2 separate regions of the Homo sapiens genome follow, and region 1 is linked to region 2. Evidence: promoter capture Hi-C in 16 types of primary human blood cells and fetal thymus (Javierre and others, 2016). All regions are on one chromosome and are shown on one strand. The core of a region is centred on a gene start or on the middle of the fragment in contact, and the rest is flanking DNA. Distances in the headings are between cores, read along the strand shown. Region 1 holds the start of MRPL1 (mitochondrial ribosomal protein L1). Region 2 holds the start of HNRNPD (heterogeneous nuclear ribonucleoprotein D).

Region 1 (4,977 bases), core at 822-3,321, 4.5 Mb before region 2:
TGGAATTCAAACCTAGGCAGTTTGGCTCCAGGGCACAGCTGCTTAACCAAAATGCTCTATTACAAGCTTATCCAACCCACAGCCTGCCAGCCACATGCAGCCCAGTATGACTTTGAATGCGGCCCAACACAAATTTGTAAACTTTCTTAAAACATTATGAGATTTTTTGATGATTTTTTTTTTAAGTTCATCAGCTATCATTAGTGTATTTTATGTGTGGTCTAAAAGATTGGATATTCCTGCTCTATTACCTCTTTTTAGTGAGAAGAAACTCATTATGTACTAAATATTTACAGTCTTGGAGTTCCCATTTCAGAGTATGGATTTTTGTAGTTTTTATAAAGTCCTTTTGTTGTTTTTATAAAGTCTCAGGCTAAGGCCGGGAGCGGTGGCTCACGCCTGTAATCCCGGCACTCTGGGAGGCCGAGGCGGGTGGATCACGAGGTCAGGAGACTGAGACCATCCTGGCTAACACGGTGAAACCCCGTCTCTACTAAAAATATAAAAAATTAGCCGTGCATGGTGGTGGGCGCCTGTAGTCCCAGCTACTCGGGAGGCTGAAGCAGGAGAATGGCGTGAACCTGGGAGGCGGAGCTTGCAGTGAGCCCGAGATCACACCACTGCACCCCAGCCTGGGCGAAAGAGTGAGACTTCGTCTCAAAAAAATAAAAATAAAGTCTCAGGCTAAGGAATCTCTTTATGTATTGTTATATACAAAACTGGAATCTGGATCCTACCTAATGCCATCGAGTTCTGGTGACCAGAGTGGGCAACAGGTAAGCTGTACCTGTACAGGACATTACTTTAATTAGGCTACCACTATAAGCATACTATATGGTATGTAAGCATACTATATGGTAATAGTTTCAATATAGGATGTTTAAACTCTCTTGTTAGAACAGTAGACATAAAAAAGTCCATAAATGGGGCCTGCCGTGTTGGTTCACACCTGTAATCCCAGCACTTTGGGATTGCTTGAAGCCAGGAGTTTGAGACCAGCCTGGGCAAAAAAGAAAGACACCCCACACTCCCCGCTGTCTATAAAGAAAAATAAAAATAAGTTAGCCAGGTGTGGTGGTGTGTGCCTGTAGTCCCAGCCCCTTGGGAGGCTGAGACATGAGGATCACTTGAGCCCAGCAGGTGAAGGCTGCAATGAGCTATGATCTTGTCACTGCACTCCAGCTTGGGTGTCAGAGTGAGATCCTGTCTTGAGAGGGGGAAAAAAAAGTCCACAGATGGGGGCCAACTGACCCCAGCTGTGGACTGTGGAAAGGAAACAGATATAGGGTCTAAGGACCAGCACCTCTAATCTGAGTGTTTGTTTTTCTCTGAAATTGACTGGGTAAACTTGCTCCAATTCTGGTACTTACTCTCAAATTGAATTAGTTTTTTTCATTTATGCATAGCCAAGTACACTGCTTGACACATGGCAGGCACTCATATATTTGTGAAAAGAAGGGAGGATGAGAGGGAGCGAGGGAGAGAAGGAAAAGTTTACAAAGATAGATTTAAGTTCTTCGATTTTTTTGCATAAGTCACAAATTGTTATAGAATCTTTGAAGTAACTGCTTAGGTGTTAACAAGACAAGGCAATACATTAGAAATCTTATTTTTTCATGTAGATGAGTACTATGTATAAATATGAATAAAGCATCTGGGAAATGCCTTTGATCCAGTTCATCTGCCTGTGGGCAGCTTCATTGAAGCAAGTTAATTTTGCAGGCTTGCCATTCTAATTGAGTCACTAATTCATGTATGCATATATTCATTTATTCAGCAAACATTTACTGAGAGCCTCCTATGGGCCTGGCACTGAAGTATGTGCTGAGGTTACAAAAATGAGTAAGATGGTTTCTACCCATAAAAAGCTCAGACTGGTGACAAGAACTGATATATTGTGGTGATGGCTGCACAACTCTTTGAGTACACTAAAAACCATTTAATTGTACAATTTAAATTGGTAGATTGTATGCTATGTAAATTATATCTCAAAACTGTTTAAAAGAAACACAGCCTGAGGCGAAATCTTTAAAAAGTTACCTAGGTGATGTAGGGTACGGTACACACGAAGCAGAGAAGATAGAATGAACCAAGTTATGGAGGTGAGAAACGTGTGTGTGTGTGTGTGTGTGTGTGTGTGTGTGTGTGTGTTGTGGGGGAGGTAAGCTGGGAAGTGATAAAATCCGTAATCAGATTTGTTTTAGATAAACCACACCGACAGCTGTGACGTAATGGAAAGTACACTCATTCTGTTTTGTTTTTGTTTTTTTTTCCTATCAGAATAACTTGTGCGTGGGTCTTGGAGCTGCCATTTTAAAACTAGAAATGTTTTATAAATGTCAAGTATTATTATTCAATTGATCCTAATGGTAAGTCTACTCGCTTGCCAGCAGGGGGTAAATGTAGAGATTAATTTAAGATTTTAAAGCTAAGGTTGATCTTGCGCTGACAGAAAGTTTGACAATTAGCAAAAAAAGTTTGTCAGTGAGTTGGACACCTCCCTCGGGTAGCGGCGAAAACGCCTAGAGAATTTTTAAAATAAGTCTTTCCAAGGCCGGAAAAGTGGCGGAGGAAGCTAGTGGGTTTCAGGGTTCCTGTTTTTCAAGATTTTACGTTGGGTATTAAGTACTCTCACAGCCTGTTAAAATTGTCGCTCTGAGTACACTTGCAGGATCAAAAAAGAAAAAGAATAAGAAGGAAGGATTAAAATAATCACAGCATCGCCAACAGGATCGTATTTTCCCGAAGGTGGTTAACCAGCCATACCGGAACCACGAAACACACAGGGTCCTGGGCAACACGGAGGACTAACAGTAACACCGCCACGCCGGCAGCAAAGCTCATTTTGGTCCCCGCCCCGTTCCTCTTTCTCTTTTTAACTCCTTCCCTCTTTGCGGATTCTAGAACGGAACCTTTTTTTAATTCTTCCCAGTAGAAACGTAGGAACAATTTCGTGAACGCAATCCGGAGTGCCCAACATGGCGGCGGCCGTAAGGTGCATGGGTAGAGGTAAGGCGAGGGGTTGTCTTGCAGGGGAAATGGCTCTGGCACCGAGTCTCTGGTTGCAGCAGAGTGCAAGGCGGATTCTGCTCTGGGTGCTGAAAATGCCTCGTGCTGTTTCTGGTCTCTAGGTTTTTCAGAGGGTGGGTCATTACTACTTAAAAGTGACCTTATGAAGGGTTTCACTCCATTCTGGAGACGTCCACCCTGAGGGAGGGAGTGGGAGCGGGACGTACATCGAGCGCCCTCCAGCCACCTATGGGCATGGCAAGGACTGGGTCGTCTCTGATACTGGGGTGTGGGCTGCGGGTAGTGGAGTGTGATAAGTGAGGTGAGTTCTGATAAGGGAAAGATGATGTATTTGAGTGGCTTAAGTCTGTAAATTAGAGCAATTTTCAAAGTGCTTTTTGGTGCTTTCGGAATTACTTCGTTATAGGCGATTCCAGTTCTTAAACTTCCATAGGTGGTCTAATTTGGATCAACGTTTATCATTTGAGGGGGCTAATTCTGTAGTACCTCTTGGTAGCGCCTCTTTTCATCTTAATAATTTCAACTTTTTGTCTACGATGACAGCCCTTTCTTGTGCAACAATTTTTTTTTTTTTTTTTTTTTGAGACGGCAGTCTCGCTCTGCCACCCAGGCTGGGAGTGCTGTGGTGCGATCTCAGCTCACTGCAACCTCCGTCTCCCAGGTTCAAGCGATTCTCCTGCCTCGGCCTCCCGAGTAGCAGAGACTACAGGCGTGTGCCACCATGCCTGGCTAATTTTTGTATTTGTAGTAGAGACAGGGTTTCACCATGTTGACCAGGCTAGTCTTGCACTCCTAATCGCAGGTGATCCGCCCTCCTCGGCCTCTCAAAGTGCTGGGATTACAGGCGTGAGGCACTGCGCCCGGCCTGTGCAACGCTTTTTGCTTTTATTTTGTGTTTTTGAAGTCCAGTGATATATATTGTTTAATTTAGGTAGGTCTTTAGGTAGAAGCAGTAGCCAGCATTACCCCCATTTTACAGAGGAAGAAACTGAACTTATTAGATATGTGGCCAAGTTCATATAACTAGTAAATGGCAGAGGAAGTACTGAAGCTTGCAATCCTAGGTCAGTGATACATGTATATTTAACACTGCATCACAGTTTTTTTTTTTTTTTTTTTGAGTTTCTTTTTAGGAAAACTGTGTCAAGAGAGTTATTGCTCAAAAATTAGGGGTGACAAGAGATAACAACAGACCCTGATGCCTACTTTGTGAGCAAACCAAAATGTATATTATTTCTGAAAGGAGGTTGAAGGCATCTTCATGTATGACAGAAATCGTTATGTTACACAAATCCAAAGAAACCAAAAATACCTGAATATTATAATTTTCTTGTCACATTTTCTTCTCTTGGCTTCTAGGATATCTCTCTGTTAATTGTCTTCCTATTTCATGTGTCATTTTTTCTCACATTACTTGGCTGGTTCCTCTTCCTCTCCCCAGCCTCTTTACTTTGGAGTGTTCTGGAAGCCAGGGTTCCATCCTTCATTCTCATCTCTTCTGTATCTAAATTCACTCCTTGGTTAGCTCATCCAAAGTTTGTGGCTTTGATTATTGTCTATCTTTTTTATTTTTTTAATTGTTTACTTATCAGGAGAAACTTTCACATTTCATAGTTCAAGAACACAGGTCAGTGACAAACTTTTAGGTAATTCAACCCAAAGAAATTCTTTATATTGCAAAATCACTTTGTGCTCTGAAATATACGTTTTCCTCATCTCCTCAAAATCTTTTATGGAATCATCATTTCTGTAGGAGTCGACACATGCCTTCTTTCTTGGCTCAGCCACCGCGAACATAGCGAAAACCCCCAGGGATACAATGAATGCTTCAACAATATGAAATTGCAAATGTTTTGCCAGAAGGCCCCACATCGGAGGTTCATTAAAGCACTGGAAGCCACGGTAGCTACTGTTCTTTTTAGGTATTAGCCTCAATACCAGCATTCT
Region 2 (4,972 bases), core at 1,674-4,173:
CAGTGCTGCTTAAAGAACTGCTTCAGACATCTCCAGAATATTTCAGTATAACATGCATGACATTTTAAACACAATATTTTATATCAAGGAGTCTTCATATTTAGCCATTAAACTTAAATTCCAACAAAAATATTTTTCATCTTAAAATAAATCAAATGTGAAGATTACGGTAATATTTTTTCTTGCTCGATATAAAAATATCGTTACTAATTGTTTAGCTTAAATTGCCAAACTGCAACTACATGCATTACCACAGACCAAATACCATGTAACGGCATCAATTTTGCCCAAAGATTACACATGATGCCTATAAAAGGTATATATCCCAGGTACAAACCTACTGTATGTACTATGGTCTAGAATTTCCTGGGGATCAATGGGCAACTAACCAATACACAGCCTCTACATATTATGACTACTGAAACCTTTATAATACAGAAATAAAATTTAAAAGTTTTACCATTCTTCCCGCTGTGCCGTCGCTGCTTCAGAGTGTCGTGGGGAGGAGTTTGAATGGCTAGGGAATTAACAACCGGTACAGCAACCAATCAAAATTCTAGTTTTAGTTTTTGACACTGTTAGGGTTAAAAACTTTAATTCATTTACACTTCAACAGTAGGTAACTATAAAGTCAGCTGCTTTGCGATTTGAATTATCAGGGCTAACAGAAAGCCTGCCCCAAACAGGAAGTTATACAATTAATCATTTTGGTGCCTCTGTCCAAAGAACAGAATTCAGCAAACGAAAACCAAAATGTTAAAGGTTTTAAGTTTCCAAATATCTAACATCTTCCTTTCTCAAATAAGCTATATACAATTCGAGTTGGTTCTGTTTAATTTTTAAAAGTTTGCTTCCCTTCCCACCACCACTCCCCCAAAACCAGCACTATCATCAAACAGCCTGACAAGAATCTGCCTAGGCTGGGCTTAATAAACCCTATATTCCAAAGTGCTTCTCCCCTCCCAACTTTCCCTCCAAATCCTGGGCTCTTTCTCAGTAAAGGAAATCGTGTTTTCTAATACTAGATTAAAGCGACATCTTGTTATATCCACCAACACCTTTCTCTTTACAGTTAAAAAAAAATTCAGACACACACACACCCCTCCCCATTACAAAAAGGAATGGAAGCGTGAACCCACGATCATCGGTCAGTAATCGGAGCTAAGAAAACTCAACCAAGAAACCTGATTTAGTCCCTCCTGCTAACTCCCGTATTATGTTCCCAATCCCAAATGCTGCATTTTAATACACTAAATGCAGATTTAGGTAGTATATACAACTGTTATTTCAATTGGAGGAAGCAAGTTAATACTAAGAAATTTGCACCAAAAAGAAAAAAAAAGTATCCCATAGCACAATACAGGATTTGTTTCTCTTAAGAGGACTACAGGCCTCCCTTAGTGGGCGGGAAACAGATATCAAGACACCAAAATAGGATCCTGGGCACCGGGAAAAAAAGGGGGCTGGGGGTTGTAAAAAATTAGGTTGCACATAAAAAGTAAGGTACAATCTGTACTAACAGTTGGGGAACCCAATAGCTGAGGGCGCGAAAAGGGTGCGCGGTTAGAATAACTCAGTGGGGTGGGGGAAGGGTAGATGCTAGGCCGGAGATAGGAACAGCTCCAGTCAAGTGCAGGCCCGATCGACTAAGAACTTAACCAGAGCCCGCGGAGCAAAACCAATGTACCAACAAGAAACTCGGAGCATTTCACCAGACCCAATTTGGTCTGCATGTCAAAATGTAGGGCCTGTATGAGTATGCCATTGTGCGATAGCGTATGGTGGAGAAAATGAGTAAATCCTTAGGCGAAACTTATTCAAAATCCCAAGAAAACAGTCGGCCTAAGGCCGACAAGGGAGAGGCAGAGGTGGACAGCCTACGCGTTCCCCAAAACATGTGCTTATAAACAATCGCATCGTTTCAGGATGGTGGAGAAGCACCAAATAAACCTTAGTAATACAAACAGAGAAGCTGTTTGTGTCTGTGTTTTTATGCCCAAGACTGTAGAAAAAGGGAAAAAGAGGGGACAGCATGGAAAGAAAAAAGGTACCCCACGACAGGCGGGAAAAAATCCTGGCGGCTAAGTCGGTGGGAGGAGACCCATGGCGAGGGAGGAAAGGAGGGCGGGCCGAGGAGCAGCATGGTGACGGCTAAAGGTGGAAACGTGTGTGATGGGGGAGGGGGGCGATAAGCAGGCAAAGGAAGAAGGAAATGAAGGTCCGGGGAACCCAACATAGAAAAAGGGAGACCAGTGCAAGGAGGCTGCATGGGGGCCCGGAGAACGGGCTGAGAGCGGGAACCAGGCCTAATGGCGGGGGAATAAAGAGGGGGAGGGGGACTAGTTGGGCCTGACTATCCTGGGATGCCCCTTACTCACCCTTCATCCTCCTCGTTCTTACTGGCGTCAATCTTCGCCCCCTCCGACTCGGCGCTGCCCCCTTCGGTGCCTCCAGACGCGGTTCCGCCCCCGGTCCCGGCTCCGCTTCCCGCCGCCGCCGCTGCCCCCTGTGTCGCCGCCACCATGGCTCCCTCCTGCTCGCCCGCCGAGCCGCCTACCGCCGCCGTTGCCGCTGCCGCCGCCCCGTCCCCGCCGAACTGCTCCTCCGACATAGTGCTAGTGTCTCCGCCGCTGCCGCCGAGACTACACCCGCCGCTGCCGCGAACCGAAACTAGCAGCAAAGTAATCCCCGCCGCTGCCGCGCGCCCGCTCTACCTCGCGAAGCACACAAGACAGGGAAGGCGCGCGCGTGGCTGCAAAGGCTCCTGCGCCTCTCCCTGGCCTGCCCCCTTCGCCTCCCACTCTCGCGCGGCGCACACTCCCGCTCTCTCCCGCTGCACTAAAAAAGAATAAGCACCAGCGGCGGCCGCTCTCGCCTCCTCCTCGCTTTAATGGCGCCGCCGCGGACCACCTAAAATGGCCGACGGAAGAACGGCGCGTCCCGGTCACGTGACGCGAGAGCGCGCCCTTCGCGCGTCCCCCCACCCCTATCCCCCTAGTTTTTTTTTTTTCCCTTTCCTCCTCGGTCCCGCCCTCTCGCTACCCTTTATACCTTCCTCTCACGCTCCGCGTTGCACAGCCTTGGGGGCCTTTAAAAGGAACCGGAAGTGTCGTGAGCTAAGACAGTCGCGCGGGGACCATCGAGAACAAGGAGTGCTGTTTCGAAGTAGCGGCTAGAGGGGCCCCCTGCCTCCGCCCCCGCCCTTCCGAGGATTCCTGGAGTCCACTCACCCCTCCCCACCACTCCAGTAGCGGCGGGAGCAGCAGCGTTAGGCCGGGGTGTGGCTGCACCTCTGCGAAGGCTGTCGTGCCCCGTGCAGCTGCGGCGTTCGGGTGGGGGAGGGGAGGCTCACACCCTGCGGCGGCTTAAGCCTGGATTTACGCACTGGAGGAGGGAATTAGCCCTGAGATGTCAGCCCTGTGCCCCTGGCGCTGTCCACCCGGACGCCCGCGGAGCGCCAGGCGCCGCAGCGGACCGCGCGCGCACTGATTGCCGCAGCTACTCTCCCTGCCGTCGCCGCCCGGGACCGGGTGACATTGAGGTTTTCGTCTATCGCCGCTGGGCCGATAGGGCTTCTTTTTAAGATTTGGCTTTCCAAGTAAGATTTTTGTTTGCCTGCTTTTCTCCTGGAATTTTTTTGTTTTTGGTCGAAGAAGCAGGTAACTTGCATATCTTAAGGAAAACATTGTTTTTGCTTTGCTTTTGTTGTTTAAAGATCCTAAAACGTACCGTGATTCCTTTACGTTACTAATAATTGGAAAGTGTGTTAAATCAAGGGTTCGCTTAATGTTCTTTAGCCTTTGTACATAGAATATATAAATGTCGTGAGTCATCTTTACGAGGTTTATGAGTTTGTGTTCGGGTTTGGCTTTTTTGTTGTGTGTGCGTGGTTTTTTTTTTTCTTTTCTTGTAACACCGTTAGGCGTTTCATTAAGGTGTATAAAAAGTAATTTTATACACCTATTAAAAATTCCCGCTGCCTCGGCTGGAGACTGGATTATTCGGGCTTTGGGATTTGCTGCTTCCAGCAGTATCCTTAGAAGAAAATGAAGCTTCTAGGTACTTCTGTAGTCAACAAATAATTATTTGCCTGTTTAATTAAAGTGTTCGGGCACGGGGGAAACAAAGACGAGTTTGCAGACTCCAGCAAAAATCTTAAGAGTTTAAGTATTTGGGCCGGGCGCGGTGGCTCACGCCTGTAATCCCAGCACTTTGGGAGGCCGAGGCGGGCGGATCACGAGGTCAGGAGTTCGAGACAAGCCTGACCAACATGGTGAAACCCCCGTGTCTACTAAAAATACAAAAATTAGCCGGGCGTGGTGGCCGGTACCTGTAATCTCAGGTACTCAGGAGGCTGAGGCAGGAGAATCGCTTGAACCCGGGAGGTGGAGATTGCAGGGAGTCGAGATCATGCCACTTGCACTCCAGCCTGGGCGACAGAGCGAGACTCCGTCTCAAAAAAAAAAAAAAAAAAAAAGTTTAGGTATTTTCCACTGCAGTTAAACGAATTTGTATTAATTGGACACTATCCAAAAATCTCAAAGGAAGATTATAAGTAAGTTTTATTAATCAAGTTAGTAGAATTTACATTACAGAATAATTAAAACTCAAGAATACAGGTCAAATTCTGAAAACGTCCTAAAAATATAATCTTACCAAACTCCCGTAATAATCAAGTCACATAAAGGTAATACCAAGAATGTTTACCGTAAAGTGGTAGTGACTCCACATTTGTCTCCACCTGCCAGAATATTAGCAAAGGATAAAGTGGATATGGTGCTCAAACCATATATTCCGGGTTAGATACAACTAAGATGATTGACTGAAGGGAAGTCTGTTTAATCTTTTCTGGCTCAAGTGACGGTAATTGTCATTTATTTTGATCTTAAGATATCATTAGACATACCCACCTTTTGGTAATAGTGACTTTTCCAAAAGGTTCATTTTGATTTCACATGTAGCTTAGGAGCTT

What was found. Contacts are between HindIII fragments. The CHiCAGO score rates a contact against its expected background, and 5 or more counts as called.
Region 1: a contact is called between a fragment that was not itself captured here and the fragment with the promoter of HNRNPD in region 2, in 1 of 17 cell types (neutrophils). The highest score is 5.7, in neutrophils.

Annotation. Positions count from the first base shown.
Region 1 is chr4:77,859,871-77,864,847 of GRCh38, forward strand. MRPL1 (mitochondrial ribosomal protein L1) reads left to right here and starts at 2,960. Exons shown (of 9, transcript NM_020236.4): 1 at 2,960-3,009. The coding sequence starts at 2,979. RefSeq lists a silencer at 948-1,163 and enhancers at 2,648-3,047, 3,408-3,507. The HindIII fragment of the contact is 4,015 bases long and covers 65-4,079 here.
Region 2 is chr4:82,371,068-82,376,039 of GRCh38, forward strand. It overlaps HNRNPD (heterogeneous nuclear ribonucleoprotein D), which reads right to left and starts at 2,924. Exons shown (of 9, transcript NM_031370.3): 1 at 2,379-2,924; 2 at 461-517. The coding sequence starts at 2,611. HNRNPD-DT (HNRNPD divergent transcript) reads left to right here and starts at 3,501. Exons shown (of 2, transcript NR_183813.1): 1 at 3,501-3,598. RefSeq lists enhancers at 1,473-1,522, 2,883-3,052 and a silencer at 2,423-2,522. The HindIII fragment of the contact is 7,055 bases long and covers 1-4,050 here.